Regions from separate parts of the Homo sapiens genome. Here regions 2, 3, 4, 5, 6 and 7 are each linked to region 1. The links are contacts of gene promoters, found by promoter capture Hi-C in blood cells and fetal thymus (Javierre and others, 2016). All regions are on one chromosome and are shown on one strand. The core of a region is centred on a gene start or on the middle of the fragment in contact, and the rest is flanking DNA. Distances in the headings are between cores, read along the strand shown. Region 1 holds the start of CLECL1 (C-type lectin like 1). Region 2 overlaps OLR1 (oxidized low density lipoprotein receptor 1). Region 3 has its middle 17 kb from the start of CLEC7A. Region 4 holds the start of LOC105369655 (a long non-coding RNA gene). Region 5 has its middle 7.2 kb from the start of LINC02367. Region 6 overlaps CLEC1A (C-type lectin domain family 1 member A). Region 7 overlaps CLEC9A (C-type lectin domain containing 9A).

What was found. The method cuts DNA at HindIII sites, captures the fragments that hold promoters and counts their contacts. A CHiCAGO score of 5 or more calls a contact.
Region 2: a contact is called between a fragment that was not itself captured here and the fragment with the promoter of CLECL1 in region 1, in 2 of 17 cell types (monocytes and neutrophils). The highest score is 6.5, in monocytes.
Region 3: a contact is called between a fragment that was not itself captured here and the fragment with the promoter of CLECL1 in region 1, in 11 of 17 cell types (monocytes, neutrophils, megakaryocytes and 8 more). The highest score is 11.9, in monocytes.
Region 4: a fragment that was not itself captured here is called in contact with the fragment with the promoter of CLECL1 in region 1 in 1 of 17 cell types (monocytes); the score reaches 5.7 in monocytes.
Region 5: a contact is called between a fragment that was not itself captured here and the fragment with the promoter of CLECL1 in region 1, in 1 of 17 cell types (total B cells). The highest score is 5.9, in total B cells.
Region 6: a fragment that was not itself captured here is called in contact with the fragment with the promoter of CLECL1 in region 1 in 1 of 17 cell types (monocytes); the score reaches 9.4 in monocytes.
Region 7: a contact is called between a fragment that was not itself captured here and the fragment with the promoter of CLECL1 in region 1, in 1 of 17 cell types (monocytes). The highest score is 6.4, in monocytes.

Annotation. Positions count from the first base shown.
Region 1 is chr12:9,730,630-9,735,014 of GRCh38, reverse strand. CLECL1 (C-type lectin like 1) reads left to right here and starts at 1,918. Exons shown (of 2, transcript NM_001441815.1): 1 at 1,918-2,066. The coding sequence starts at 1,985. RefSeq lists a silencer at 4,126-4,185. The HindIII fragment of the contact is 6,540 bases long and covers 1-3,834 here.
Region 2 is chr12:10,160,926-10,165,310 of GRCh38, reverse strand. The region is part of intron 3 of OLR1 (oxidized low density lipoprotein receptor 1); the gene reads left to right. Among named protein-coding and RNA genes, the nearest start is that of OLR1, 9.0 kb to the left of the region's middle. The HindIII fragment of the contact is 2,011 bases long and covers 821-2,831 here.
Region 3 is chr12:10,144,888-10,149,272 of GRCh38, reverse strand. No RefSeq gene overlaps it. Among named protein-coding and RNA genes, the nearest start is that of CLEC7A, 17 kb to the right of the region's middle. The HindIII fragment of the contact is 6,553 bases long and covers 1-4,385 here.
Region 4 is chr12:10,114,152-10,118,536 of GRCh38, reverse strand. It overlaps CLEC7A (C-type lectin domain containing 7A), which reads left to right. Exons shown (of 6, transcript NM_197947.3): 6 at 1-1,760. The coding sequence ends at 79. It overlaps LOC105369655 (a long non-coding RNA gene), which reads right to left and starts at 3,174. Exons shown (of 4, transcript XR_007063208.1): 1 at 2,994-3,174. The HindIII fragment of the contact is 3,256 bases long and covers 625-3,880 here.
Region 5 is chr12:9,358,102-9,362,486 of GRCh38, reverse strand. No RefSeq gene overlaps it. Among named protein-coding and RNA genes, the nearest start is that of LINC02367, 7.2 kb to the left of the region's middle. RefSeq lists an enhancer at 150-399. The HindIII fragment of the contact is 2,764 bases long and covers 1-2,632 here.
Region 6 is chr12:10,079,580-10,083,964 of GRCh38, reverse strand. It overlaps CLEC1A (C-type lectin domain family 1 member A), which reads left to right. Exons shown (of 6, transcript NM_016511.4): 3 at 2,552-2,728. Among named protein-coding and RNA genes, the nearest start is that of CLEC1A, 17 kb to the left of the region's middle. The HindIII fragment of the contact is 805 bases long and covers 1,862-2,666 here.
Region 7 is chr12:10,042,210-10,046,594 of GRCh38, reverse strand. All of the region lies in intron 2 of CLEC9A (C-type lectin domain containing 9A), which reads right to left. It also overlaps the pseudogene LOC100421202. Among named protein-coding and RNA genes, the nearest start is that of CLEC9A, 14 kb to the right of the region's middle. The HindIII fragment of the contact is 2,846 bases long and covers 608-3,453 here.

The sequences.
Region 1 (4,385 bases), core at 669-3,168:
GATTACAGGCATGAGCCAGGGCACCCGGCCCATCAGTCATATTTTTCATATGAATAAAAGTCTACTTTTTAGTGAAAAATGATTATTCTCATTCTGGAAAACTGTTATAGCCTAATTATAACATTCAGCATAGCATAACTGATTTGGTAATTCAACACATAATTACTGAGCGGCTGTTATGTTTCACACAAAACTAAGTGATGAAAATAAAAATAATAAAATGTGAGTCTTACCCTCAAAATCTAGACAGCATAGTTGAATTATGGCATGGACTTAGAACTCAGTTATCACTCTTAAAATGTACTGGTTATGCCTTTGGGAGGCTGAGGCGGGCAGATCACGAGGTCAGGAGATCGAGACCACCGTGAAACTCGTCTCTACTAAAAATACAAAATATTAGCCGGGCGTGGTGGCGGGCGCCTGTAGTCCCAGCTACTCGGGAGGCTGAGGCAGGAGAATGGCATGAACCCGGGAGGCAGAGCTTGCAGTGAGCCGAGATCGCGCCACTGCACTCCAGCCTGGGTGACAGAGTGAGACTCCGTCTCAAAAAAAAAAAAATTATTGGTTATGCAACCACCTGCAGATAATAAAACCTCTAAAAGTCAGTTTTTCATGTATGTAGTAGGTATTGTCTAGTCACATACAAACAGTTGGAACAGCCCAGAAAAGGGAGAGAGTGTCATGCAGTCTTAAGAGACAGAGGTCGGTGCTCAAGCCTCATCCAGGGTCAGAAGTTGGTCTTTATAGGAGGGATCCCTAAATGCCACAAAGCCAGGATCTGTTCTCTAGTTATTTAATTAACCTAAGTTAAATTTCTTGGATGAGGGGTAGGGATGGGGTGACTGCAGTTTAGATTAATTCTGCAGAATGCACTTGAGTGGGTATTGAAAAAACCAGTTTTTCCATATGCAGATTTCCAGTTAATCTACTAGTCATAAGCTAATGGATCCTGCCATTTTTCATATCTGACATTTCTATGTCCTATGACGGTTTCACAGGTAGCTAGGCTCTCCTCCATTATTTCCCTCTGTATGGTGTTGGCTGCATTTTTCTCTGATTTTACTTCTTCATCAATGATCACATCTCCATCTACTCTCCATTTTCCAGGAATTAGTTGAAATTTTTCATCAACTAATAGGACCCTGAGCCTTTGTGTTATTGTTTTAGACTAACAAATTTTTATTCACTTAATTCAATTTTAGTGGAATTTTAGAAGAAATAGGAGATAAAATCTATGTTTGCTATGTTGTATTCGATAGTAAATTTCTGAACACCTCATTTTAAAATTAGATTTTTTTCTTTTATGTCATTACCTTGAATTATTTTAACAGAGTTATTTCTGTTTCTTAAATATATATTTTTTAGTTCAGAAGTCCTCTGCATAATTCATGTTTTACCTCAGTTTAATGTTAATATTATAAAGCATACAGGAAAGCAAATAGCTTTCAGAATTTTTAAGGTATTATCTAGACAATACAATGCATTTAGAGAGGAGGATAAAAGACATAGGGCCCCTTTCTGTAACTTTCGTAATAAAATCCCTTCTTTTTCTTGTTCTGTTTCCCAAATAGCTATCCTACTTTGGAGAAGATGCTGGAAATTCAGAGTTTCCGCCAGAGAATATATGCCTGAACTAAAAGAGGAAGTGGTCTATAGGAGAAAATGGTGAGATATCTTCTGTGGTATTAATAAAAGTTAAAAGCATTTCAAGTTTAGGCAGAAAACTAACTGAAAAACGAGAACCTACTGTATGGTTAGTAATTTCTTCCATGTCATACAAGTATTCGAGAAATCTGCTACCTTGATTAGTAAGACTGAACACATTGGTTTTGTCATTTATTCATGGAGGAAGTCCACCACCCACTTGGGGAGCAGAAGGAAATTTGCCATCTCAATTTACTTATCAGAAGTTTCTTTGCAGAAATATGATTGTCCCTTCAGTGGGACATCATTTGTGGTCTTCTCTCTCTTTTTGATCTGTGCAATGGCTGGAGATGTAGTCTACGCTGACATCAAAACTGTTCGGACTTCCCCGTTAGAACTCGCGTTTCCACTTCAGAGATCTGGTAAGCTGGATTTAGGGTGCCTTTGAGAATTAAGATTTTACTAGTTATCTCCTTTATTTCTTTCTTATGTATCTAATTGCCAAACTGAAAAGAGGAGATTGGATTCAAAGCAAAATTCATTGAATGCTAAGAATAAGAGCGAATGTTTTTAATGAAGCAAAATGTCTGTTCATAAAATAAATTGCCACTTTGGTTTTAATATGTAGAACTTTGCTTCTGTTTTCATAGCCTTTCTATTTCTTGATTTCTCGTGATGAATGTTTATATTCACACAGCAACTTCTAGCGGGATCACGCCTTTCTGCTCCACAGCTTTGCTCACTCTCAATCAAATCTGACCTTTTAACATAATGTGATAAATTCATCTCCACTGGGAAAAATACCTGTGGCAATTTACTCATATTGTTATTTATTCTTTTACAATATCAATAGGATAAAAATGTAAACTTAAGAAAACATGAAACGTTAGATTTAATTTTATAAAGTCTAGAATTAATGACTAGGTAATTGAATATTTCTGGAATCAGAGGCGATAAGCATATGCCTAAACTTAACATGGTGCCTTCATCACCAAACCCCCTCAAAAATTATAGATTTTCATAGCCAGTGTCTTTTCTATTCTTTGAAGTATTAAGGAAATTTCTCTGTCTTGTTACATTTCCATTCTCTGCTCTAGGGTAAGAATTTTTGTAGCATAGAGTTTATGTAGGTGTTTTAAATAATTTAAAGTTCCTCCTTTGTATTTGCCCTTGTGGAATGAATCTGCTACTTTGTTCGTATTTCCAAGGAATGTATTTCTTCTTTATATTTTCAAAAGTTTATAGTTATCAAAGGAATCTAGTGTGTGTCCTTTTCTGGTTGTAAAAGCATCTTGTTTCTTATTTTAAACCTTACCTCTCTATTTTACCCAGCAGAGGCTAACTTGCTTTCTTTTCTTCCAGCTTAGGCACTTTCACTTCCTATGAAATAGTGAAACATAATTTGAAAAATAACATGGACTAGAACTGCACTGTCATTCCCCTATGCTTCAAAAATGTCCTGTAGTTAGTTTCTTTTTCTAGAGGTTATTTTACTCAGTTTAAGCAACAAAACCAATATTTTTGATTCCGCATTCCAGGGTTTAATTGCCTTTCTGTCTATGGTTTGAACTTTTATAAATAAAACCTTATTCTTTTCCCAGTTTAGGGATGTGGGGCAACATCTTTTAATGTGATCTAGTTCAATCTTAGAATGCTAAAAATGAGAAAACGAACTATATGAAGATTAAATTACCTACCTATAGTCATGCTTATGACCAGAAGTCAAATATCATATTGTTCTTGTGCTGTATACGTGTGGTGTTAGATAAACGCAACTTTTGTTCTCATGCGTCACTTCGCCATCAAGCGAAAGAGCTGTTGGATAGATTAGATTTTTGTTGTCTTACATACAGAGTCCTACACAATTGTTCCTGATCTCTTCTAACCTCATACCTTTCACTGATTTTGCTCTGGCTATTGGCCTTTTCTTTTCTCCTAAAGGTTGTCATATTCCTTACCATTTCAGAGCCTCATAAAATGCTGAATCTTTCTACATAATCTATTAATCTTTGTGTTTCTAGCACCTCACACCGTACTAAATATAGAGCAGGAAATTAATAGATGCTTGATAAGTAAAATAATTTATAAATGGCTGAATAAATAAATGAATCGCATTAGACGATGAATGTATATATGTATGCTCATTGGTTCTCCAAGATGTAAAGCATAAAGGAATGTCATCAGGAAGCTTAGCAGGACATCAGTGAGAGTGTGTGTTTGAACTGAGAATATCCCAGAAATTTATGCTTTGCTTAAATCTTACTTAGGAGGCCTAAAAGAATGATCAATATCTTTTATGTTAGTCTTTTTATGAAATCTGAAATTTTATTCTACTAAACTTAGGGATCCATAATTTCAGTTCGTCATATTAGTAACATGTGTAGTGGCCAGGCACAATGGCTGACGCCTGTAATCCCAACACTTTGGGATGCCGAGGAAGGAGGATCGCTTGAGCCCATGAGATTGGTACCAGCCTGGACAACACAGAGAGACCTCATGCCTACCAAAAATTTTAAAAACGAGCATGGTGACACGTGCCTGTATTCACAGCTACTCAGGAGGCTGAGGCAGTAAGATTGCTTGAACCTGGGAGGTGGAGGTTGCAGTGAGCAGTGATCATGCCACTGCACTCTAGCCTGGGCAACAGAACAAAAGCCTATCCAAAAAAAAAAGAAAAGAAAAAAAGAAAGAAAAAGAAACGTGTAGTGACATCACCACATTCTTTCTGTGACTGACTTGAC
Region 2 (4,385 bases), core at 577-3,076, 430 kb before region 1:
TTACAGGCACCCACCACCACGCCCGGCCAATTTTCTTTTTTTTTTTTTGAGAGGGAGTCTCGCTCTGTCCCCCAGGCTGGAGGGCAGTGGCACATTCTCGGCTCACTGCAACTTCCGCCTCCCGGGTTCGAGGGATTCTCCTGCCTCAGCCTCCCGAATAGTTGGGATTAGAGGCACCCGCCACCACACCTGGCTAATTTTTGTATTTTTAGTAGAGATGGTGTTTCACCAAGTTGGCCAGGCTGGTTTTGAACTCCTGACCTCGGGTGATCCGCCCGCCTCGGCCTCCCAAAGTGCTGGGATTACAGGTGTGAGCCACTGTGCCGGGCCCATCAATTTAAATAGAGCCAATGGAGGTAGACTGGCTTGCAAGCCTTACGCAGATACTTCAGATTAGACAAAAATATGAGGAGTCCAAGAAGTCTATTTATATAAGAAGAAATGAGTTAATTTTAGCCGTCTAAAGGGACTCAGAATCCAGAGGCAGGCAGAAATAGTAGCATCTATAAGAAGACTATGATGTGAACTCTGATATTGTTACAGAAGCTACTGTATTATTTGGTCTTTCTGCAGTATGTCATTACATCAGGTATATGGTTTTAGGCATAGGGAGAGTTAAAAGGTGTGAGAGAGAGTCATTCAGAGGTACTTTGTTTCCTTGGAGGTGCGTAAATTAGTGCCCTATTGTCAGGATTAGAGAAAAACTTCCTCTAATAAACAGAGATCTCTCTAGCTTCTTGCTTGCACAATTTACTTAATCTCAACCACATAATTTATTTGAATAAAGAGCATATAATAATAGTTCACAGATACCTAAGCTTTTCCTTGATAGGTGGAACACTGAGACCCGGATAAAGTGAAATGATAATAAAAAGTAATTTTGTGTAAGGTTTTGCAGTTTGTAAATCCCTTCACTATTTAGAGGTCATTTACATTTTCAAAATTAGCAGAAATTTTTGAACAAAATAATTTTTAGCAAGTGTCAAACATTTTTAATCTCTTTAAAGTTGGAGCTTGCAAGGAAATGAATATACCACCTTCAAGAAGGCTTAAAGGGAGAAAGTTTATCTATTAAGGATAGGAATGTTTATAAAAGCGGACATAACCACGTACTAACCAATGGTTTATATCACAGGCAAGGCCAGAAGAGAATTTTGTCTTTATCAGTTGTATGGGATTAAATCTACATCAGGACCATTCAGAACTATCTCCCAGAGATGCCCTGGATGAACAACTAATAAAAAACAATAAGTGATATGTCTGATGCTGGCAGATATACCAAGTAACATGTTCCATTCCTTGACAGTGTCAGATAAAGGCTAATTAGTAGAGATAGCAAATAAAGTTTTGCCTTTCATCAAAGAGCATTTTTTTTTTTTTGAGACGGAGTCTCGCTCTGTCACCCAGGCTAGAGTGCAGTGGTGCGATCTAGGCTCACTGCAACCTCCGCCTCCCGGAGTCAAGCAATTCTCCTGCCTCAGCCTCCTGAGTAGCTGGGATTACAGGCGCCTGCCACCACGCCCAGCTAATTTTTGTATTTTTAGTAGAGACGGGGTTTCACCATGTTGGTCAGGCTGGTCTCGAACCCCTGATCTCGTGATCCACCCACCTTGGCCTCCTAAAGTGCTAGGATTACAGGTGTGAGCCACCAGGCCCGGCCCACCAAAGAGCTTTGAGAAGTCTTTAAAAAGTAATACTAAAATACCACATACAGAAAAAAAAAAAAAGCCAAGTTTTTCCAGTTTGAGGCAAGTTTTATCTTTTTTACTAAAAAGTCTGTGGTCTTCAATGTATATATGAGGAGGGAGAGATGCTGAGAGGTTATTATATGTTTGCTTTAGGCCAACGAGCTAGTGAGATGCAGGGCCTTTGCAGGAATAGACTTCACATTTAGCAATGGAATTTGTGGTGATTCTCAAACTTTACTGTATGTAAATAGATTGTTAAAAGTGGCAGATTACAGATTTACCTCAAGATTCTGTATCAAAATGTCTCGAGAGCAGCACCGAGAAACACTTCCTCAAATGGTTTTAACTTAGAAGTTTGAAAGGTAGTATGTTATAGTGGTGAAACACCCAGACTCTAGAGTTACATTATCTAGGTCCAGATTCTTCTCTATTTGTCAAATGAAGAAAATGACTGGAACCTATCTCACAGAGATACTGTGAGGATTAAATGAGTTAATACCTGTACAGTACTTCCAACAGTTTCTGGCACATAGTGAGTGATATTTGTGTTTGTTAAATTATATAAAAAATAAACATAGTAAGTGATATTTGTATTGTTATATAATTTAACAAACACAAATATCACTTACTCTGTTTATTTTTGTGTACACACACACACACACACACAAAGAAATACAGTAAGTTTAAATACTACATTTTGTAATGTGTCCTTCTTACTTTGTCATAACTGGGAAAACTTGCCCAGACTGTCTTTTTAGTCCACAAAAAACTTATATACATCTAAATATATTTTTTGAGACAGAGTCTTCCTCTGTCATCCAGGTTAGAGTGCAGTGGCATGATCTCAGCTCACTGCAACCTCCACCTCCTAGGTTCAAGTGATCCTTCCACCTCAGTCTCCTAAGTAGCTGAGACTACAGGCGCACACCACCACACCCAGTGAATTTTTGTGTTTTTTGTAGAAATGGGGTTTCGCCATGTTGCACAGGCTGGTCTGGAACTCCTGGCCTCAAGCGATCCACCCACCTCAGCCTCCCAAAGTGGTGGGATTATAGGCATGAGCCACCACCCCCAGCCAAAAACGTACATATATTTATATTTACATAATATGATGGGGTTAGGCAAACTAAGAAGTAAGAAGCTTGCATTGACTGCTTTCAACTTGGTCTCTTTTTCTTTTCATAAGCATCAGTTTGGTGAAAAATCAACTTAGTGTTTTGTATGCTCTTTCTCATTCACTTTTTTCTGTTTTTCAGTCCCTCCTATTTTCTCCTCTCTGATAAAGCCTACTCTTATACATTTATTTAGTGGTTTTATGCCACAGTGAGAATGAAATTAAAATGCTGCCTTTCTCAAAGATTTTAATTTTTCACCTTTTGGTTGTAGTGTAGACCAGAGTACTTTGTTTCCCCTTAAGGAGATGGGAGAGATGATGATGATGATGGTGATGATAGTGATGATTTGAGGGTTCCTGAAAGCATCCATAAACATGTAGACATTGGTATATTTTGCCTATTGTCTAAGTCCTGTTTTTGGTTTGGTGGACTCCCTGTGAATTTTGCTACTGAAAATCTCCTTATTTTCTAAAATCTCGTTTAAATTGAGATCCTCGCTTTATATTAATATACTATTTTCCCTAGAACAACTCTGTACAAAAGAAATATAGTATGTGTTTTTTATATATATATATATATATATCATTAAAATTTCTAGTAACCACATAAAAATGAAAAAGAAGCAGATAAAATTAATTTTAGAAACACATTTTATTTAACCCAAGATATTTGAAATATTATTTCAATACTAATCAGTATAAAAATTTTTAATGGACTATTTTACATTCTTTTTCTTTTTCAAATTAAGTTTTCAAAATCTTTTGTGTGTTTTACACTTATAGTACATCTTAATGCAAACTAGCCGGGTGTGGTGGGTCATGCCTGTAACTCCAGCACTTTGGGAGGCTGAGGCAGGAGGATTGCTTGAGGCCAGGAGTTCAAGACCAGCCTGGACAACATAGCGAGACCCTGTTTCAATTAAAATAATTTGTTTTAAGAAATGCAAACTAGCTATATTTCTAGTACTCAAGAATCACATATGGCTACTGTATTAGACAACACATGTCTGAAAGCAAGACACATAGTATTTAAGCCTAGATTCATTATTCAAAGATATGAAATTTTAAAATGCATAGCATTACTTTTTAAAAATAGCAGAATGGCTATTAAATATCTGTTCTCCCAACCCTCACTTTCTTTATTTCCAACACAACTTTAAAAAATAGATCAGTTTCTAAAATTACATGCTAGCTTAACTTGCTTTTCATCAGGGGAAGTGAAAATGCTAAATGAGAAGTACATTTAGGTTGCTAAAATCAGTATGCTTTCTTTCTTTCTTTTTTTTCCCAAAAAATGAAGAAATAAGGACTCTGAGGCTATTTAGGTATTTGCAGAACCTGGGTAAAATTTTACTTAAGAAGTAGTGTGGGCAGGGCGCGGTGTCTCACGACTATAGTCCCACTACTTTGGGAGGCTTGGCCTACATGGTGAAACCCCATCTCTACTAAAAATACAAAAACAAAAACAAAAACAAAAATAAATAGTATGCACGTGAGAGAACTAAGGGGATCATTGATTTAAGAACTGCAGTACTGCTTTTACACAAACATAACTGACTGATGAGATATACTATCCTTCCCAG
Region 3 (4,385 bases), core at 1,183-3,682, 410 kb before region 1:
GAGCATGATAGTAGTACAAAAACAGACACATAGACTGAGGGAACAGAATAGAGAACCCAGAAATAAAGTTGCACACCTACAATTATCTGGTCTTTGACAAAGTTGACAAAAACGACCAATAGGAAAGGACTCCCTGTTCAGTAAAAGTGCTGGAATATACTGGCTAGCCATATGCAGAAGATTGAAACTGGTGAAACCCTACCTTTCATCACACATAAAAATTGATTCAAAATGGATTAAAGACTTAAGACCTCAAACTATAAAATTCTAGAAATAAATCGAGGAAATACCCTACTCAACATCAGCTAAGGCAGATAATTTATGGCTAAATCTTTAAAAGCAATTGCAACAAAAACAGTAATCAACAATAGGACCTAATTAAACTAAAGAGGTTTGCATAGCAAAAGAAACTATCAACAGAGAAATTAGACAATCTACAGAATACGAGAAAATGTTAGTAAAGTATGCATCTGACAAAGGTGTAATAATCCAGAATCTATAAGAAATTTAGGCCAGGTGTGGTGGCTCACACCTGTAATCCCAGCAATTTGGGAGGCCAAGGTGGGTGGATCACCTGAGGTCAGAAGTTCGAGACCAACCTGGCCAACATGGTGAAACCCCATCTCTACTAAAAATACAAAAGTTAGCCAGGTGTGGTAGCACGCACCTGTAGTCCCAGCTACTCAGGAGGCTGAGGCAGGAGAATCACTTGAACCTGGGAGGTAGAGACTGCAGTGAGCTGAGATTGCACCATTGCACTCCAGCCTGGGCAACAAAAGCGAAACCCCATCTCAAAAAAAAAAAAAAAAAAAAAAAGAAGCAGCAGCAGCAGCTTAAACAAATCAGCAAGCAATAAACAAATAACCCCATTAAAAAGAGGCAAAGGACATGAACAGACACTTCACAGAAGAGGACATACAAGCGGCCTACAAACATATGAAAAAATGATCATCATCACTAATCATTAGAGAAATGCAAATTAAAACCACAATGAGACACCATCTCTCACCAGTCAGAATGGCTATTATTAGTCATAAAACAACAGATGGTGGCAAGGCTGCAGAGAAAAGAGAATGCTTATACCCTGTTGGTGGGAATGTAAATTAGTTCAGCCACTATAAAAAGCAGTTTGGAGATTTCTGAAAGAACTTAAAACAGAACTATGATTCAATCTGAAAATCTCATTTCTGGATATATATCTGAAGGAAAATAAATCACTCTACCAAAAAGCACGTGCACTCGTATGCTCATCACAGCACTATTCACAATAGCAAAGACATGGAATCAACCTAGGTGTCCATTGACAGTGGATTGTATAAGGAAAATGTGGTACATATACACCATGGAATACTACACAGCCATAAAAAAGAATGAAATCATGTTGTTTGCAACAACATGGAGGCAGCTGGTGGCCATTATCCTAAGTGAATTAACATAGGAACAGTGAACCAAATACTGCATGTACTCACTTACAAGTGGGAGCTAAGCATTGAGTACGCATGGACGTAATAATGAGAACAATAGATACTGGGAACTACTAGAAGGGGGAGGGAGGGAGGAAGGGAAATGTCAGCTGAAAAACTACCTATTGGGTACTATGCTCTCTTCCTAGGTGACAGAATGATCTGCACTACAAACCTCAGCATCATGAAATTTACCCATGTAACAAACCTGCATATGTACCCACTGAATCTAGAATAAAAGTTGAAATTGCTGTCTAAAAAAGCTCTTTGTTTCATTGACTTTGTCTATATATTTTTGTTTCCTATTTCATTAATTTCTACTTTGATTGCTATTGTTTCTTTTTTCTACTTAGTTGGGTTTTAATTTCTTCTTTTTCTTGTTTCTTAATATGGAAGCTGAGTTCATTAATTTGAGGCATTTCTTCTTTTTTATATAGTCATGCAGTGCTTTAAACTTTCCTTTAAATATTGCTTTAGTGGTATACAACAGATTCTGGTATGGTAATTTTTCACATTTATTCAGTTCAAAACACTTTCTAATTTCCCTTCAAATTTCCTCTTTGATTCATTGATTATTTAGAATGTGTTAATTTCCAAATACTTGGGAATTTTCCAGAAATCATTATACTATTAGTTTCCATGTGAGAAGAAACATTTTTAATGACTTAAACCCTTAAATTTATTGAGACATTTTATGGCCAAAAATATGATCTATCTTGGCAAATTTTCCATGTACACTTAAAAAGAATATGTAATCTGTTGTCGTTGGATGGAATGTTGTTAAAATGTACATCAAATAAATGCGGACAATAATTTGATTCAAGTCTTTATTTATTTATTTAGTTTTGAGAAGGTGTCTCGGTCTCTGTCGGCCAGGCTGGAGTGCAGTGGCGCGGGTGCAACCTCCGCCTCCCGGGTTCAAGCGATTCTCCTCTCTCAGCCTCCTGCGAAGCTGGGATTACAGTCATGTGCCACCATGCCCGGCTATATATATATATAGTTTTTTGAGACAGAGTTTCGCTTTTGTCCCCCAGGCTGGAGTGCAGTGGCGCGATCTTGGCTCACTGCAACCTCCGCCTCCTGGGTTCAAGAGATTCTCCTGCCTCAGCCTCCCGAGTAGCTGGGATTACAGGCATACACCACCATGCCCCTCTAATTTTTGTATTCTTAGTTTCGTCAAGTTGGCCAGACTGGTCTTGAACTCCAGACCTCAGGTGATCCACCTGACTCGCCTCGCAAAGTGCTGGGATTACAGGCATGAGTCACCATCCCCAGTCTGGTTGAAGTCTGTTATATGCTTGCTGATATTTTTTGTCTATTATCATATCAATTATTGAAAAAGGAGTATCTAACCTTTGATGATAATTATGATTTTGTCTACTTCTCCTGTAGTTCTATCAGGTTTGCTTTGTATATTTTAAAGCTCTGATAATCAAGGCATAAATATTATGGATTTTCATTCTCTCTTGATGAACTGACCTCTAACCAAGTAAACTTTTTTATTCCTGTTAGTAATGTTTGTTCTGAAATCTATTAGTCTGAAATTAGTACAGCCACTCCTGCTTTTCTTTGATTAATATTGGCATGATATATCTTTTTTTATCCTTTTACTTTTAACCTATTTTTTTGTCTTTAAACCGAGTATATTCCTTTTAGCTGACATAACATTTGGGCTCGCTATTTTACATCATTTAACAATTTCTTTTGGGTGTTTAAAACATTTACATTTAATGAAATTCTGATTAATTATACTTAAGTCTGTCATCTTGATATTTGTTTTCAATTTGTCTCCTTTGATCTATTTCCTATTTCTTTTTCCTCCTTTTTTTTTTTTTTTTTTAGACGGAGTCTCGCTCTGTCGCCCAGGCTGGAGTGCAGTGGCCGATCTCTGCTCACTGCAAGCTCCGCCTCCCAGGTTGATGCCATTCTCCTGCCTCAGCCTCCCAAGTAGCTGGGACTACAGGCACCTGCCACCATGCCTGGCTAATTTTTTGTATTTTTTAGTAGAGACAGGGTTTCACCATGTTAGCCAGGATGGTCTCGATCTCTTGACCTTGTGATCTGCCTGCCTTGGCCTCCCAAAGTGCTGGGATTACAGGTGTGAGCCACCGTGCCCGGCCTCCTGAAGAATTTTTTAAATGTTTTCTCTACTGAAATTCTGTTTGTGATTAATTCTGATTTAAGATGTCTGAAAACATTATTATTTCATCTGTACTTTTAAATGATATTTTCACTGGGTGTAGAATGCTAGGCTGACAGATTTTTTTGTATACTTCAAAAATGTTACTCCACAGTCTTCTTACTTGTATTATTTCTTATGACAAATATTCTATCATTCTTTGTTTCTCTGTACATAATTATCTATGCTTTTGTTAGATATTTTATTTTCGTTTTGTCACAGGGTTTATGCATTTTTTATTATGATGTGCCTTGGTGAAGTTTTTTTGTTTGTTTCTTGTATTCAGAGTTCTTTAGCTTTTGGATCTATTGTTTTACATTTTTCATTAGCTTTGAAAATGTTAAGCATTATTTTTTCAAATATGTTTTCTGCTCCAACCTCTACCCCACTCCCACACACTGTTAAGGGATTTAATACACGCGTATTAGGCGCTAGAAATTATCTCCCAGCAACCTAATGCTCTGCTCTGCCCTTTCCCTCCCGTCCCCTCCCCTCTCTTACTTTCCGCTTCTCTTCCCCCTGCCTTCTTTCCTTTCTATTACTTTCTGTTCTTTCTCCTTCTCTTTTCCTTCTTTTTTTTTTTTTTGAGACAGAGTCTCACTCTGTCGCCCAGGCTGGAGTGCAGTGGCACGATCTCGGCTCACTGCAAGCTCCACCTCCCGGGTTCATGCCATTCTCCTGCCTCAGCCTCCCAAGTACTACAGGTGCCCGCCACCACGCCCGGCTAATTTTTTGTATTTATT
Region 4 (4,385 bases), core at 1,003-3,502, 380 kb before region 1:
GATTCACGTGTCAGTCATTTATGACCAACTGTGTAGTGTGCCCTCATATAGTATTTGTGAGAAGAAGTTTTCAATGTAAGAGGAAGGGTGGAGAAGGAGAGAGAAATATGTGAGGTAGTAAGGAGGACAGAAAACAGAACAGAAAAGAGTAACAGCTGAGGTCAAGATAAATGCAGAAAATGTTTAGAGAGCTTGGCCAACTGTAATCTTAACCAAGAAATTGAAGGGAGAGGCTGTGATTTCTGTATTTGTCGACCTACAGGTAGGCTAGTATTATTTTTCTAGTTAGTAGATCCCTAGACATGGAATCAGGGCAGCCAAGCTTGAGTTTTTATTTTTTATTTATTTATTTTTTTGAGATAGGGTCTCACTTTGTTACCCAGGCTGGAGTGCAGTGGCACAATCTCGACTCACTGCAGCTATCTCTCGCCTCAGCCCCTCAAGTAGCTGGGACTACAGGTGCATGCCACCATGCCAGGCTAATTTTTGGTGTTTTTTGTAGAGACTGGGTTTTGCCATGTTGACCAAGCTGGTCTCTAACTCCTGGGCTTAAGTGATCTGCCCGCCTTGGCCTCCCAAAGTGCTGGGATTACAGATGTGAGCCACCACACCTGGCCCCAAGCTTGAATTTTCATTCTGCCATTGACTTGGCATTTACCTTGGGTAAGCCATAAGCGAATCTTAATTTCTGGCTCTATCAGAGTTGTTTCATGCTCAACAATGCCATTGAAGTGCACGGTGTGTTGCCACGATTTGACCCTCAACTTCTAGCAGTATATCAGTTATGAACTGAGGGTGAAATATATTTCTGAATAGCTAAATGAAGAAATGGGAAAAAATCTTCACCACAGTCAGAGCAATTTTATTATTTTCATCAGTATGATCATAATTATGATTATCATCTTAGTAAAAAGCAGGAACTCCTACTTTTTCTTTATCAATTAAATAGCTCAGAGAGTACATCTGCCATATCTCTAATAGAATCTTTTTTTTTTTTTTTTTTTTTGAGACAGAGTTTCGCTCTTGTTGCCCAGGCTGGAGTGCAACGGCACGATCTCGGCTCACCGCAACCTCCGCCCCCTGGGTTCAAGCAATTCTCCTGCCTCAGCCTCCCAAGTAGCTGGGATTACAGTCAGGCACCACCACACCCGGCTAATTTTGTATTTTTTTAGTAGAGACAGGGTTTCTCCATGTCGGTCAGGGTAGTCCCGAACTCCTGACCTCAAGTGATCTGCCTGCCTCGGCCTCCCAAGTGCTGGGATTACAGGCGTGAGCCACTGCACCCAGCCTAGAATCTTGTATAATATGTAATTGTAGGGAAACTGCTCTCATAGGAAAGTTTTCTGCTTTTTAAATACAAAAATACATAAAAATACATAAAATCTGATGATGAATATAAAAAAGTAACCAACCTCATTGGAACAAGTATTAACATTTTGGAATATGTTTTATTAGTTTTGTGATGTACTGTTTTACAATTTTTACCATTTTTTTCAGTAATTACTGTAAAATGGTATTATTGGAATGAAACTATATTTCCTCATGTGCTGATTTGTCTTATTTTTTTCATACTTTCCCACTGGTGCTATTTTTATTTCCAATGGATATTTCTGTATTACTAGGGAGGCATTTACAGTCCTCTAATGTTGATTAATATGTGAAAAGAAATTGTACCAATTTTACTAAATTATGCAGTTTAAAATGGATGATTTTATGTTATGTGGATTTCATTTCAATAAAAAAAAACTCTTATCAAAAAACCCATGGCCTCTAAATTATGTGCCTGTGTGTCACAATCACTATTACAATTTGCCCTCTCCCCAAAAATGATGATGAATTTGGTATGGGTGGAGTGGATATTTATAGTAGATATTTTGATATTAAAGCATTAATTCGCGATCTTAAAAATTTTAAAAACCTAAGAGAAGATAAAGATCTTTGTGAGGTTTACTATTGTTGTTTAATATGCAAATTTGTTTTCATTACTTAAAAACATGTAGAAAGGGAAGAGATAGATAGGTGCAGCAAACCACCATGGCACATATATACCTATGTAACAAATCTGCACGTTCTGCACGTGTATCCCAGAACTTAAAGTACAATTAAAAATACATACATAAATAAATAAATGATGTAATGTATAATAAACATAAAAAAAGAAAGGGAAGAGATAGATCAGGCTGAGAACATGAGGAGTATGGTTAACTGTTTTAAGTAGTTAAAGCATAGGATGGAGTTTGGAAGAGATATCTAGTATTTTAATTTTGGTTTTGTTTTGATTCATTCCTCCTGGGTCCCCAGGATATAGTGGATGACTCCAAGAAATTATGGTAATCAAGGTAAATAACTGGATGCTGAAGATCCAGCTGTACTAATCTAGTGAACAGACAGGCCAGGCAACCTAACCCATGACGTGGGTATCACGAAAGTGACGGTGTAAAGTAAGATTGCTCTACGTTGTGCAAGACATACAGTACCTGACCTGTTGAGACACGTTTATATCACAGCTTATATGGAAATATACGTTAATAAACAGAAAACATCCACCCTTTTCCAAGAGACAGAAAACATCCACACTTTTCCAAGAGACAGAAAACATCCACACTTTTCCAAGAGACAGAAAAGGTGAAATAGCTGCTAGCCGAACCTCAGTCTGAAAGTTAAATTCGAGATGAGTAATGGTCACACCAGAGGACATGCTCAGGGGCCACCATGTTCACTTGTTTGGCTTATAGCAATAATTTTTGAAGTCGTCTCTGAGCCTTCACCCTCACCCTCTACAGTCTATTTTCAAACAAATCAGAGTGAGACCATTAAATTTAAATAAAATCATGTCGGTTCTCCACTTAAAATTCTCATCAACTTCTCATGTATCTCAGAGTAAAAACAAAGCAACATAAAAAAGAAATACCTTTGTAATTATCTATAAGACGCTACATATTCTGGCCCTCTTAACTTTGAGCTAATCTCCTACTTCCTTCATCTTTACTCACCGCACTCAGGACGCCGGCTTCTCTGTTGTTTCTCAACCATGTCAGGCGTGCTTCCACCTCAAGGTATTGGTGATTCTTATCTGCTTTACCTGAATGATCCTTTTATTTTTTTGAGACGGAGTCTCGCTCTGTGGCCTAGGCTGGAGTGCAGTGGCGCGATCTCTGCTCACCGCAAGCTCCGCCTCCCGGGTTCCCGCCATTCTCCTACCTCAGCCTCCCGAGTAGCTGGGATTACAGGCGCCCGCCATCACGCTTGGCTAATTTTTTTTTGTATTTTTTAGTAGAGACGGAGTTTCACTGTGTTAGCCAGGATGTTCTGGATCTCCTGACCTCATGATCCGCCCGCCTCGGCCTCCCAAAGTGCTGGGATTACAGGCGTGAGCCACCGCGCCCGGCCTGAATGATTCTTACCCGACAAAGCTGCAGGGCCTGGCCTCTCACCTCGTTTCCATCTCTGCACAAACATGACCTTCTTAATGATGCTTACTCACATAACTATTTAAAGTTACCAACCCTTTTTCCCTACATTCTTCATCTCCCTTACCTCTGTTTATTTACCATAGCATTTATTATAGTCTAATATACTCTACTATTTACTTATTAGGTTGGTGCAAAATTGCGGTTTTTGCCATTGAAAGTATATAGGATAAAAGTAATGGCAAAAACCGCAATTACTTTTGCACCAGCATGATACTTATTCTCTTTCTTGTATATTGTCTTCCTCTTTCTTATCTATCTGTTTCTTATATATCGTCTGCCTTTCTCCGTAGAATATAGTCTCTAAAAGGACAGACAGCTTTGCTGTACATGGATGTATCCAACAGTCTGAGAATAGTACTTGCCATACAGTCGATAGTCAAAAATATTTTTTGAAAAAAAAATAAGCTTTTAAGGAAAAGTAGTATAAATGTTAATGTAGGTTTTTTATCAAAAATTATTAGGAATATACTTGAATAACTGAAGCTTGGGAAATAGTTCTAATTGCTATTTTATGAGAATCATAATTACAGGCACCTTCTAAGTGCCTTTTTTTCTGATCCTAGCTGTTGTAATTTTTAACACTGTATCTCTGTTTTATTCAATTATGGGCTTTACATAACTTCATCTTCACAATTTTGACTACCTTCTCTTTTATATGGCTCTCTGATATCCAACCCAATGCAAACAAACAATTTTTGATTTCCTACTTCTTACAAGGCACTGTGCAAGAGGAAGATATTTTTATTTTTATTTATGTATTTTTTATTTCAATAGATTTTGGGGTACAAGACGTTTTTGGTTACATGGATGAATTATATAGTTGTGAATTCTGATTGTAATGCACCTGTCACTCACCTGAGTAGTGTACATTGTACCCAATATGTAGTTTTTTTTATCCCTCCCCCTCCCTTT
Region 5 (4,385 bases), core at 1-2,500, 370 kb after region 1:
AGTGAAATTATCCTGTTTTGGACAACAGCTTGGCCTTCGACAGTTTTATCAATCTGTACAACAAAACCCCAGCACTTATTAATCCCTGAAGTATGGAAACAAATGAGGAAGGGACTGTGTCTCCTGCATTAAACACATCGATGTCTCTGTCCCACAAGAGAAGCTCTTCACGGGGCTCCTTCCATGTTTGCTGTACAGAACCTCTCAAACGAACAACCTCATTCATGTGAAAATTCCCCAGAGCGGCCACTGCAGTTTCAAATGGTGTCTCAAGAAATTGTGTCAGAGGCATAAGATGAGTTCACACGACAGTGAGGAAATCTGAAAGCAGCAGGCGTTTGGCCTGGGGAAGAGCCACGTCCGATGAAGAAGGTCGCACGGGCACCCGAGCAGTCCGAGAAGAGACTTCGTGCCTCCAGAGCTTGGTCAGAGGCCACAGGCTGATTGTCCCCAATCCTCCTGATTCCAGGCAGAGGGAACTTTAAAGTGAGCAGTTCTCAGGAACCACACAGAGACAAAGTTGAGGGGAAAATCCACCCTTAGGTATGAAAACAGTGACCTGGGGCAAAGCTCATTCCAATGAATGCTAGTCTGAGGGGAACTCCTGAGCACTGTGACCTCCAAGACCAGCTTGAGGACAGACTTCCCGGGCCCCTATCAACTACTGAATTTTCCACTTAGAGACAACGCTTAGAACATTCGACCACCAGATAGACATAGGAGCATTTCTCAGAAGGCTAGACAGCAGTTTCACCGTGGAGCGGGGCAAATCTGATCAGATCACCAGGAAAAGTCGCACAGCACCTCATTCCCAGAACAGAGCACACCTGAAGCGGAGGGGCCTCAAGGAAATATCAGCCTCCATGGGGCCTCAAGGAAATATCAGCCTCCATTCAGCCCGAGCTGCCTTCCAGCTGTGGGCCACCCGGCACCTCAGACAGAGGGAGACACCCTGTATGTCTCAGCTGTGTCCACCCTAACTGAGGCGGGGGTTCTTGTCCAAGGGGGAGGGCTTCAGCTGACTCAGGGAACCTCTATTTCTGCCAATCCTCCTAAGCTAAAAAACCACCAAGAACTCACCTGTAGCTGAACCAAAATGGGTTTATTGACTTGTTGCACAAAGGAAGAATGTCCAGCAGTAAAGAGGGCCTTCAAAAGAACTTGCTATAGATGCGGGCTCGTGGCTGGTGAGTCTCAGGAGGGCTTAGGAAGCAAGGCCTTTCTCTGGGTTGGATATCGTGCATAAAGGGACCACATGGCACAGGATTCCATTCTATGCAAAAGTGCAGAACAGGCAAATCCAGAGAGACAGAAGGTAGGTTTGTGGTTGCTGGGGGCTAGGGGAAAGAAGTGTGGAGACTGACCATGCGTATGAGGTTTCTTTGTGGAGGTGATGAAAATGTTTAGAATTAGATAGTAGTGATGGACGCACAATTTTGTGAATATATATGAAAACCACTTTAAAAGGGTGATTTTTATGTTAGGTGAATGATATCTCAATTTTTAAAAAGTGAAAATAAAAAGAGGGGCCTCAAGATTTGGTGAGCTGATAGACTGATAGCAAGAGAGGATACTAAGGAAAGACACTAAGGAACACATATTCACAAAGCAGAACCGCCCAGAGCAGCAGGCTGTCAGCCTTTATGCCAGAGCCTCTGTTGGCTTCTGTCAGTGCAACCCCGCAGACACACACAGCATCGCCATGGGCTGGCCGAGGTGCCGAGGAGCACACAGAGGACTGAGACATGGTCCCTGCACTCTGGGGGAAATGACATCTCAACACAATAATGGTGTTCATCATCAGGACCCCAAGTCATGATGAAAAGGTTAAATTATTCTCAAAATGCTCAATTGTAAGAAAGCAGAGGAGTGGATCGTAAGGAATAAATGTATGAAAAAAATTTCAAAATTGCCAACCTTTTCAAGAAATATTGAAACCTCTGGTGCAGGAAGGTAATCTGTGTGGAGTGGCAGCCAGGGAATGGGATGCTGTGTGTGTGTGGAGAGGCAAACATCCCCATAGTCTTCAGGATCCCCCGAGAGGGGCCGAGTCAGAGGCCGTCAAAGCCTCCAGTCCCCTGGGCATCCAGGGCCTCATGGCAACTGTACCAGTTGTTCTCACTTTTGTTATTCTTCCATAGAACTCAACGTGCCTCTCACGCAGGGACTCAGGATGGTGCTGAGTCCAGGTGGAGGGAAGGGGTCGGATGGGGGGCTGGGTGGGGGACATGGTGGGGGCTCTGTTGGAACCTGCCACCCTTCTGGCTCTCTACCGTGTTTTTCTTAGTTAGTGGGAGGTCTGTGAGCTCCATACCTCCAGGGCCTAGCTGTGAAGCTGTTGCTGGTGTGGATCTGTCCAATGGAGTTTGCTGGGTGGGGGAAGGTGTGAGGGAACCTCCATCTTGGAACGGCATCTCCAGAATGCAGGAGTGAGGCTGGCACACAGCACGGCCTCTGTGGACAGGGGGTCCAGGGAGGTTGGGGAGGGGCCTCAGGGATGGAGGGACAGAACTGGGGCCTCCCATTCTATCCACATCAGCCTGGTGAGTTCAGATCATCTCTTTAGCACCTTATCACCACTTCCACACTCAGGTGATTTCAAGGAACCTTAGGTCCCCAATTGCCACAAGCTTTGGGGCACAGCTCCTGCCTTGTAAAATAAATATTTTGGAGATTTTAAAGATGTAAATTCAAACTGGCTTTTGGAAAAGACAGGTTTTAAGGGATGGTTCCCATTCTAATGTCGGGGCTTTCCATCAGGCCACCCTGGGCAGAACCCGGGGGCGAAAAGAGAGAAATGAACAAAGCCTCCAAAAAATATGGGACTATGTGAAAAGACCAAATCTACAATTGACTGGTGTACCTGAAAGTGACAAGGAGAGTGGAACCAAGCTAGAAAACACTCTTCAGGATATTATCCAGGAGAATTTCCCCAACCTAGCAAGGCAGGCCAACATTCAAATTAAGGAAATACAGAGACCACCACAAAGATACTCCTCGAGAAGAGCAACCCCAAGACACATAATTGTCAGACTCACCAGGGTTCAAATAAAGGAAAAAATGGTAAGGGCAGCCAGAGAGAAAGGTTGGGTTACCCACAAAGGGGAGCCCATCAGACTAACAGCAGATCTCTCAGCAGAAACTCTACAGGCCAGAAGAGAGTAGGGGCCAATATTCAACATTCTTAAAGAAAAGAATTTTCAATCCAAAATTTCATATCCAGCCAAACTAAGCTTCATAAGTGAAGGAGAAATAAAATCCTTTATAGACAAGCAAATGCTGAGAGATTTTGTCACCATGAGGCCTGCCTTACAAGAGCTCCTGAAGGAAGCACTAAACATGGAAAGGGACAACCTGTATCAACCACTTCAAAAACATGCCAAATTGTAAAGACCATCGATGCTATGAAGAAACAGCATCAATTAATGGGCAAAATAACCAGCTAACATTGTAATGACGGGATCAAATTCACACACAAGTATATTAATGTTAAACGTAAATGGGCTAAATGCCCCTAATAAAAGACACAGACTGGCAAATTGGATAAGGAGTCAAGACCCATTAGTGTGCTATATTCAGGAGACCCATCTCAAGTGCAGGACACACATAGGCTCAAAATAAATGGATGGAGGAAGATCTGCCAAGCAAATGGAGAGAAAAAAAAAGCAGGGGTTGCAATCCTAGTCTTTGATACAGCAGACGTTAAACCAGTGAAGATCTAAAGAGACAAAGAAGGCCATTACATAATGGTAAAGGGATCAATTCAACAAGAAGAGCTAATTGTCCTAAACATATATGCACCCAATACAGGAGCACTCGGATTCATGAAGCAAGTCCTTAGAGACCTAGAAAGAGACCTAGACTCCCACACAGTAATAATGGGAGACTTCAACACCCCACTGTCCATATTAGACAGATCAATGAGACAGAAGGTTAACAAGGATATCCAGGACTTGAACTCAACTCTGCACCAAGTGGATCTAATAGACATCTACAGAACTCTCCACCCCAAATCAACAGAATATATATTCTTCTCAGCACCACATCACATTTATTATAAAATTGACCACATAATTGGAAGTAAAGCACTCCTCAGCAAATGTAAAAGAACAGAAATCACAACAAACTGTCTTTCATACCACAGTGCAATCAAATTAGAAATCAGGATTAAGAAACTCACTCAAAACCATACAACTACATGGAAACTGAACAAGCTGCTCCTGAATGACTACTGGGTAAATAATGAAATGAAGGCAGAAATAAAGATGTTCTTTGAAATCAATGAGAACAAAGACACAACGTACCAGAATCTCTGGGACACATTTAAAGCAGTTTGTAGAGGGAAATGTATAGCACTAAATGCTCACAAGAGAAAGCAGGAAAGA
Region 6 (4,385 bases), core at 1,015-3,514, 350 kb before region 1:
GCCTTGTCTTCAAGCTCTGAAATTCTCTCTTCTCCTTGTTCTAGTCTATTGTTGAAACCTTCTACTGCATTTTCTATTTCTCTAAGTGTGTCTTTCATTTCCAGAAGTTGTGATTGTTTTTTCTTTACGATATTTATTTCTCTGGATAATTTTTTAAATCCATATCCTATATTGTTTTTTAAAATTTGTTTAGGCCGGACATGGTGGCTCATGCCTGTAACCCCAGCACTTTGGGAGGCTGAGGAGGGCAGATCTCCTGAGGTCAGGAGTTTAAGACCAGCCTGGCCAACATGGTGAAACCCCATCTCTACAAAAAATATAAAAATTAGAGAGACATGGTGGTGGGCACCTGTAATCCCAGCCACTTGAGAGGCTGAGGCAGGAGAATCACTTGAACCTGGGAGGTAGATCCAGGTTGCAGTGAGCCAAGATCACACTACTGCGTTCCAGCCTGGGCAACAGAGTGAGATTCTGTCTCAAAAAGAAAGAAAGAAAACCATAAATAAGTTTCTTAAGTTGGTTTTCACTTTTCTCTGGTATCTCCTTGAGTAACTTAATAATCAACCTTCTGAATTCTTTATCTGGCAATTCAAAGATTTCTTCTTGGTTTGAATCCATTGCTGGGGAGCTAGTGTTACCTTTTGGTGGTGCTATAGAATCCTGTTTTGTCATATTACCAGAATTATTTTTCTGTTTCCTTGTCATTTGGGTCTATTGGGTATTTCAGTGAAAAGATCTGGAACACACAGGCTGCTGTTCAGATTCTTTCATCCCATGGGGTGATCCCTTGATGTTGTGCTCTCCCCCTTCCCCTAGGTCTAGGGCTTCCTTAGAGCCAGACTGCAGTGATTGTTATTCTCTTCTGGGTCTAGCCACCCAGTGGTGCTACCAGGCTCCAGGCTGGTGCTGGGGAATGTCTGCAGAGTCCTGTGATATGATCCATCTTCTGGTCTCCCATCTGTGGATACCAGCACCTGCTCTGGTGAAGTTGGCAAGGAGGTGAAGCAGACTGTGTGAGAGTCCTTGGTTGTAGATATGTTTAGTGTGCTGTTTAGTGTGCTGGCTTCCTTGAATGCTGGTTATGCTAGCAGTGAAGTTGTCAGATGGATGCACTCAGGACCTCTGGTTAGCCAGGATGTTGCAGGCAGTGGAATTAGCTGTTGTCTTCTCCCTCCTTGGAGCAGGGTTATTCTGTCTTGAGTTACTCTAATGGTTTGAGTTGTTGGCCTCCAGCCAGGAGGTGGTGCTTTAAAGAGAGCACCAGCTGCAGTAGTAGACACGGGATGTAAGCTTGTTCTAAGTTTGCCAGGATGAGTATTCAGGTTTCTCAGGTGATGGGTGGGGCCATACAGCTCCCAAGTTTATGTCTTTTGTGTTTGGGTACCAGGGTGCATAGAGAAAAAACATCACATGGGATCAGGGTTAGGCAGGTCTGAGCTCCCACTCTCCTTGGACGGGGCTTGTCATGAATCCTGTGGGGGATGGGGGTTGGTTCTCAGGATTTTATGGCTGCCTCTGCTGTGTCATACAGGTCACCAGGGAAGTGGGAGAAAGCTGGCAGTGATAGGCCTTACCCAGCTCCCACATAGCTGGTGATGCAAGTCTTGCTCCCCCCATGCCCCACCAACACCACGAAGTTTATATCCTGGCAGCTCATGCCTGGGGCTCTGAACTTGCCTCAGGCTACAACCCTTCCCACTGAGAAAGCAAGCAGGCTTTCAGGCCACGCCGCTCCCCACCTTCCCACACCATCTGTCACAGTTCCTGTGCTGATATCTGTAGCAGTTCCTCTTTGCCCCCTGGATTCTGCTTAAGAAAATTCATATCCAGTTGAAATTATTACAAAATTCATTTGGAAGCTTCTTTCATCCTGTGTCTCCTCTTTAATTCCACTGGCTGCCTTGTCCAAGGACCCCTGTGAGACAAAGTCAGGGATGGCTTCCCTGGGCTTGAGCTGGAGAATGGGAGTGCCTACAGGACTCTTTCCTCTGCTTCTTCTACTTTTATATTTTGCATCTATTTTATATTTGGCTCCCTACATCCATTTCTGCTCCAGGTGAGGTTAAATCCTTCTCATGTAACCCAGATTTTCAGGTTCCCCATTAGGGATGTGTGTTCAGAGGTGGGTTTTCCCCACTTCACACATTTTTGGCTGTCTTCCAGAATTTTCAGTATTGAGTTGCTTCTTTCAAAGGATCTGTGCATTCTTTCAATTTTCCTGGTATGTTCCTGAGGTGGTTCCTGGAGGAAAAGTTCACAGTGTGAGTCTCCTCACCCTGTTCTGTTGTCCAAATGGGAGCTCTATCTTAGCCCTCTTAGCCGTCATTTTCTCCTCATGACTTCACATTTTTAGACAGACTTAAAGAAATTAATTTGCCCAAGGTGATACAACTTCTCATATATGTACTAGAGTCCAAACTTGAATATAGGCAATATGAGAACTCAGAGCCTGAGATACTAAAAAATATACTGTTTTGTCTTCCCCATAAGCAGAAAATGGAAATAAAACATAGAAATAAGCTGTCCAGTCTGACTTGGTCATTTGGGTTAGTTTTTCAGTACTACCAGCTCTCCAATACTGGTCAAGACACCATTTCTCAAATGGAAGAAAGATTAGGAAATACGTCCCAAGAGTTGCAATCTCTTCAAGTCCAGAATATAAAGCTTGCAGGAAGTCTGCAGCATGTGGCTGAAAAACTCTGTCGTGAGCTGTATAACAAAGCTGGAGGTAAGTGTGTCCTGGTCACTCTGTCCCCATGTTGTCTGGAAACAGAGAGATGGATTTCCCGCCGGTGAAAGTGAGAGTCAAGTATTATTTAACTAGAGGTCTGGCAAACTGAAAAAGGGTTTGGGCTTCAAGATCATGATCAGTTGTTGGGATCATGTGATTCATATGTGTCTGTGATACCATGCATCAAGGGACTCTTCAAATGCAGACATTTTAAAACAATAAAAACAATTAACTAAGAATAACCAAAATAAGACTACGAGTAAAGAAAATACAGGGGTATGTCTCAATTTACCTCGGCAAATGTTCTTACAAATTCTTTCCTAGTAAGAAGTAAGCAAACTCATAACTATAGTTCTCAAATCTTAAACAACATACAGGGACTAGTCTGAAAATGCAGATAACCTGAATCAAATTCAAGTTATTTTAATTCAGGATAACTTGGCTGGGTATCAAAAATATGCAGTTTAATAAGGACCACAGATGATGACAGTGCCAATGGTAGGTGAACCACCGTTGATAAAATTACTGCTGGAGAAGTCTAGGAGCATCGCTTCAGTGTGAGTGCATGTGTATTCCTATTCTCCTATTCTTTTCAGGTTTTGTGATAATCCACTTTATTCAGGTCAGCTCTCTCTTCTGCTCTCTTTATCATGCTTACTTAGGAAATGGCATACATGTTCAGGTTTCCACTTTTTATTTCTTTTTTAGGAACTCTGAAGGAGGGCAAAGTCTCCTCATCTACTATACACACACCACTTCCCACCTGAAACAGACATCCTGATTGCATGGCTATGCAGGAGAAAATATTAATAGGCACAGTTTTACTTCTCTAAGTGATTCTTTCCTACATAACTAATGACCTCAATGGTCATAATGTCCTTATTTACTAATTTTTCTTTTTCCTTTTTTTGGGGGTGGGGGGAGATGGAGTCTCACTCTGTTGCCTAGGCTGGAAGGCAGTGACACGATCTCGGCTTGCTGCAACTTCCTCCTCCCAGGTTTAAGCAATTCTCCTGCCTCAGCCTCCTGAGTAGCTGGGACTACAGGTGTGCACCACTGCACCCAGCTAATTTTTTCTTGTATTTTTAGTAGAGATGGGTTTTCACTGTGTTGGGCAGGCTGGTCTTGAACTCCCAACCTCAGGTGTTCCCCCTGCCCCAGCCTCCCAAAGTGCTAGGATTATAAGCGTAAACTACCGTGCCCAGCATTTATTTACAAATTTTTCTAACAAAGCCCAGTGTGCATACTTTCCTTTGTTGGTTGCCATATCTTCAAAAAGATAATCCACTACTTGACAGGCTGAGGCTAGAAGATTGAGCTGAGGAGATCAAGACCAGCCCAGGCAATATAGTAAGATACTATCTCAAAAATTATTTTTATTTTTATTTTTACTTTTATTTTTAATTTTTTTTTTTAAGACAGAGTCTCGCTCTGTCACCTAGACTGGAGTGCAGTGGCATGATCTCGGCTCCCTGCGGTCTCCATCTCCTGGGTTCAAGTGATTCTCGTATCTCCTCTTGGGTAGCTGGGATTACAGGCATGCACCACCACATCTGGCTAATTTTTGTATATTTTAAGTAGAGACGGGGTTTTTCCATGTTGCCCAGGCTGGTCTTGAACTCTGGCCTCAAGTGATCTGCCCGCCTCAGCCTCC
Region 7 (4,385 bases), core at 781-3,280, 310 kb before region 1:
TTATCCTGTGAAACGGTGCCTTTCCATGTATTCTATAAATACTTGCTGAGTTATTCAGCAAGAAGCAAGCATAGAGCTGTTAGGAAAAGACCTAAATAAAGCATTTTAACATGTCCTTCTGTGTAGTAGCCTCTGGGCCTTGTTGAGAAGCATTTATTCATTTTACAAACCCCATGAGCTTTGTTACAAACTTTCTTTTCCTTCTTTTGCACAAAAAATTACTGCTGTTGAGTCTAACCAGAAATGAACTTGGAATAGTAATTGTATTTGTGTAATGTCTCTCTGTTTCCTGTAAGCCAGGATCTGGGGTTGGCGATGGTAATACAATAGTAAATGCAAAAGTCACAGTGCCTGTTCTTGTAAAGTTTCTGGTATAATTAACACTACAAAGTTTTATTTTAAGTTGTAGAACTGTGAGGTATAAATGGAGGATGTATTATTCCTATTTCAAGTATGAGAAAATGGAAGTTAAAAAATCTATGTGACTTGTTCATGATTGTACTTTAAGTGACATTATCTAAATTATTCTACCAATTCCAAGTTTAGTATTCTTTTTGTTACGTCACGCTATCTTTCAAACTTAGATATTCTGCACACATTTTAAGCTTCGATATTTTGCCCAACTTAATTAAGCACTAATCTATATTGTCCTGATTTTAATCTTATATGTGTATATATGAAGATGCAGTAAATCATATTATATTCAGGTAATTAGAAATTAGACAAGAAGAAAGAAAATTAAGGGAAAGTAGAATGATTGAGAAGCAAGTGATCAATTTACATGTTGGGTTCTGGATATTCAAAGAAGGGAGTAGGTAAGTGATTCTGGTAGTAAAGATAATACTAAAAATGACATCAAAGGAAGAAAGGAAGAAATAACCAATTTATGGCTATTGATTTCTTCATTCAGAACTTTTATTGGGCAATAAAGCCCTTATCTGTGATATCCTGCCCCTTTCCTTGCATTAAGGTAGCTGGTCCACCTTGGCCATGCCAGCTTTCCTCTCACACATTAAATAATGTTTGTTCTCACAGAAGGTAGAGTGCCTTTTCTGATTATGAAAATAGGCACAATTCATATTTCCTTTTCCATCTTCAGAAAGCCCAAACCTGTGAATGGGAAAGGTAGAATAAATTCCTTCAAAAACTAAGGAAACAATCAACAATCAAACTCTGTGTATAGTATTTTGATGCACAAAATGGAGACTCTGGGGAAAACAGTAAAAAAAAAAGTTTCTCATTGTTGAGTAGCTCCCAACCTGCTTGGTAGTACAAGGTATGTATATCTGAAAAGCTCAGTAGCAGTTTCATGTAGCATAAGATTAAGGAGCAAGGGAACACTAGTACAATAGGAGCCCCAAAGAAGAGATTGAGATAGCTCTGAAATAATGGGAAAAGGCTTTATCTACAAGATCAGACTTTAGTTGGTATTGATGGAAGGGCAGGATTTAGATGAACAGGACAAAGAGCTGCAATGGATGGGACAGGAGACAGGAGATGGACAGGACAAGTATCTGCAATGGATGGGAATAGGTTCATGGAAAAGTGAGTTGATTCAATATTTTTGAGCTGAGGATTTATGTTACAGGATAGATGATCTAAGACAGCATGCTGTATTGTAATGGCTGTTAACTTATCTTTATTCTCTTCTAGACCGTTTATCACGAGAGGACAAGGAATATATATTTATTAGTTTATTTGGCATATATCTACATAACTATGTGACAAAGTTGTTCTATGGGCTGAGGATAGACTGGTACAGAAAGGCAAGAAAGCCAAGGGCTTTCCTGTTGGGGAACTTCCATTTCAGTGGGGTGATGCCAGTAAGAAGCCCACAAATAGACAAGAAAATTTCTGACAGTGGTAAAGTTACAAAGAAACAAAACAGTGGTAGACTGTGTGGATGTGGGCTGAAGGGAAGCTAATTTAGTTTGGGTAATTAGACTTAGCCTCATTGAAGAAGTGATGTTTAAATAGAGACTTGATTCACAAGAAGGAAACAGTCATGGAGTTGTGGAGGCAGAGCATTCTAGGAGAAGAAAATAGCAAATGCAAAAGTCTTGAGATAAAAAAACGAGTTTGATTTGTTGGAAGAATAAAAAAAACCCCACTAATTTGTCTGCAATATTGTGAATGAGGCAGCAAGTAATAGGAGATAAAGCCCATGGTCTGTGAAGAGTTGTAGCTGTAGTATCCTGAGATCCTACCTATAGTAAATACTTCCTAAATATTTATTAAATAATTAATGGTGCAAGTAATGATCATATTGTACAAGATTTGGTTATCCATTTACATTTTAATTGGAGAGAGACTGCAGTTTTGATATATAGGATGGACAAAAGATGTTGAGACTGGACATTGGAAAACCACATAGGAAGTGACAAAAGTTCACAACCTGGTGCTAACAGCCTATTTGCCTGCATCATGTGTAGAAGGATAGAGCTTCACTAATGGACATTGGAATTATCTTGTGAACCCCAATGTATCTAATTCTTGGAGACTTGAAGGATAGAAGAGTAGGCAAAATGCCACCGAAAAGTCAAAAGACTCTCAAGTTTACAACTTTCAACTGTAACAAAATAAGGATGAAATTTTGTTTAAAAAATATATGGAGAGGGCCAGGCGCGGTGGCTTATGCCTGTAATGCCAGCACTTTGGGAGGCTGAGGCAGGCGGATCATGAGGTCAGGAGAGGGAGACCATTCTGGCCAAGATGCTGAAACCCGATCTCTACTAAAAATACAAAAATTAGCTGGTGTGGTGGCGCGTGCCTGTAATCCCAGCTGCTCAGGAGGCTGAGGCATGAGACTCACTTGAACCCAGGAGGTGGAGGTTGCATTGAGCCAAGATCGCACCACTGCACTCCAGCCTGGTGATAGAGCGAGACTCCATCTCTCTCTCTGTCTATATATATATATATATATACATATATATGCAGAGAATCAGAGCAATTTAAAGACACACACACACACACACACACACACACTGTTCCATGGTAAAGATTAATATAGAAATGAATGGGAATAATATCAGGTATAAAAATGGGTTGTGGCTTAGATAAAGAGTTTAAGAATGGGAGAGGGGAAGGTAGAATTGTCTTATGACCAGTGCTCTCTTGTTTGAAGTAGGGAGTAAGTGACTCAGCTGCTGATTATATAACCCATAGTAGGTTATAGAGACACATTTCAATTATTAAGTGACTTGGACTGAGATGAGAGCGGATCTCAAGAATAAGTTTCTAGTATTACTTTCTATTCTGAGTGTCGGGGACTTACATATTTTTTTAGAGAACTGAGCCATCTCCCACTTACAGACCTCATTAGAGTTCTGGTGGGATAATCTGACCCAATGAATTAAACCAGTCCTGGCTTTGATGTATTCCTATTGTAAACATAAATAAACACAATGGTCAGAATCCCTCCACAGCTGTTGATAATGACATAAAGACAAAGCTTTATGATAAGACCCTGGACAAAAAAAAAAGTTGGATTACATGTCTATATTAATGTATTTCATTTGATATTTGAATCTGTGCCAATTTCACTTGTCTTAGAACTTAAAAAAGCTTGTAGGATGCAGGTAAAATTGTACACAAAATAGCTGAAATTCTAATGTTCCTATGTGTTTATAACATATATTTATATCTTCAATCAATTGAGGATTATACTTTCAGACTACCAAACATGACTCAAAGGAATAAATGTGAACAGAGAAAGAAAACACAAAGAAATACATTATTGGTGAGCTTTATATTCCTTAGATTTAAAACTCTACATGGTTTGGTTTTATTGCTTAGCTTGCCTATAAAATGTTCCCTATAGAAGTATTAATTTGTTTTAGTTGAGTAAAGGAGTACATAATGTCTTTCTCAAAGGGATTTATTAATAACATACATCTACCTTTCCTGGTTTACTTTTCTCTAGTTAGCAATAATCACTACCTACTATACTGTATAGTATGTTATTTGTTTGGCTTCTTGGCTGTTGCTTCAATTAAAATCTATGCTCCTTGAGCTTAAGGATTATTTTTTCTGTTTTATTAACTGCATAGGTCCAAGTCCTGGAATAGTTTCAGCACATATTTGTTGAATTAATGAAGGAATAGGTAAATCAATCAATATATGAGTAGGAAAATTAAATGGAGGACAAATGTTTATATACTCTCACACCTCCCAAAATAACAAGTGAGAATGCATTGTTGGCAAATAGGAAGTGACTTGAGGTTCTTGACAGATATGAAAGACTCAGAATGGCATTCCACAGGAGCTATTGTGTGACAGTCACATTTGACTGCTTATTTCTAAAAGCTTAAGCCACTAGTAACCTTACTCTTACTCCTCCTAATCTTTTCTTTAGAATATATCAACATTATATACTTCCCTACAGA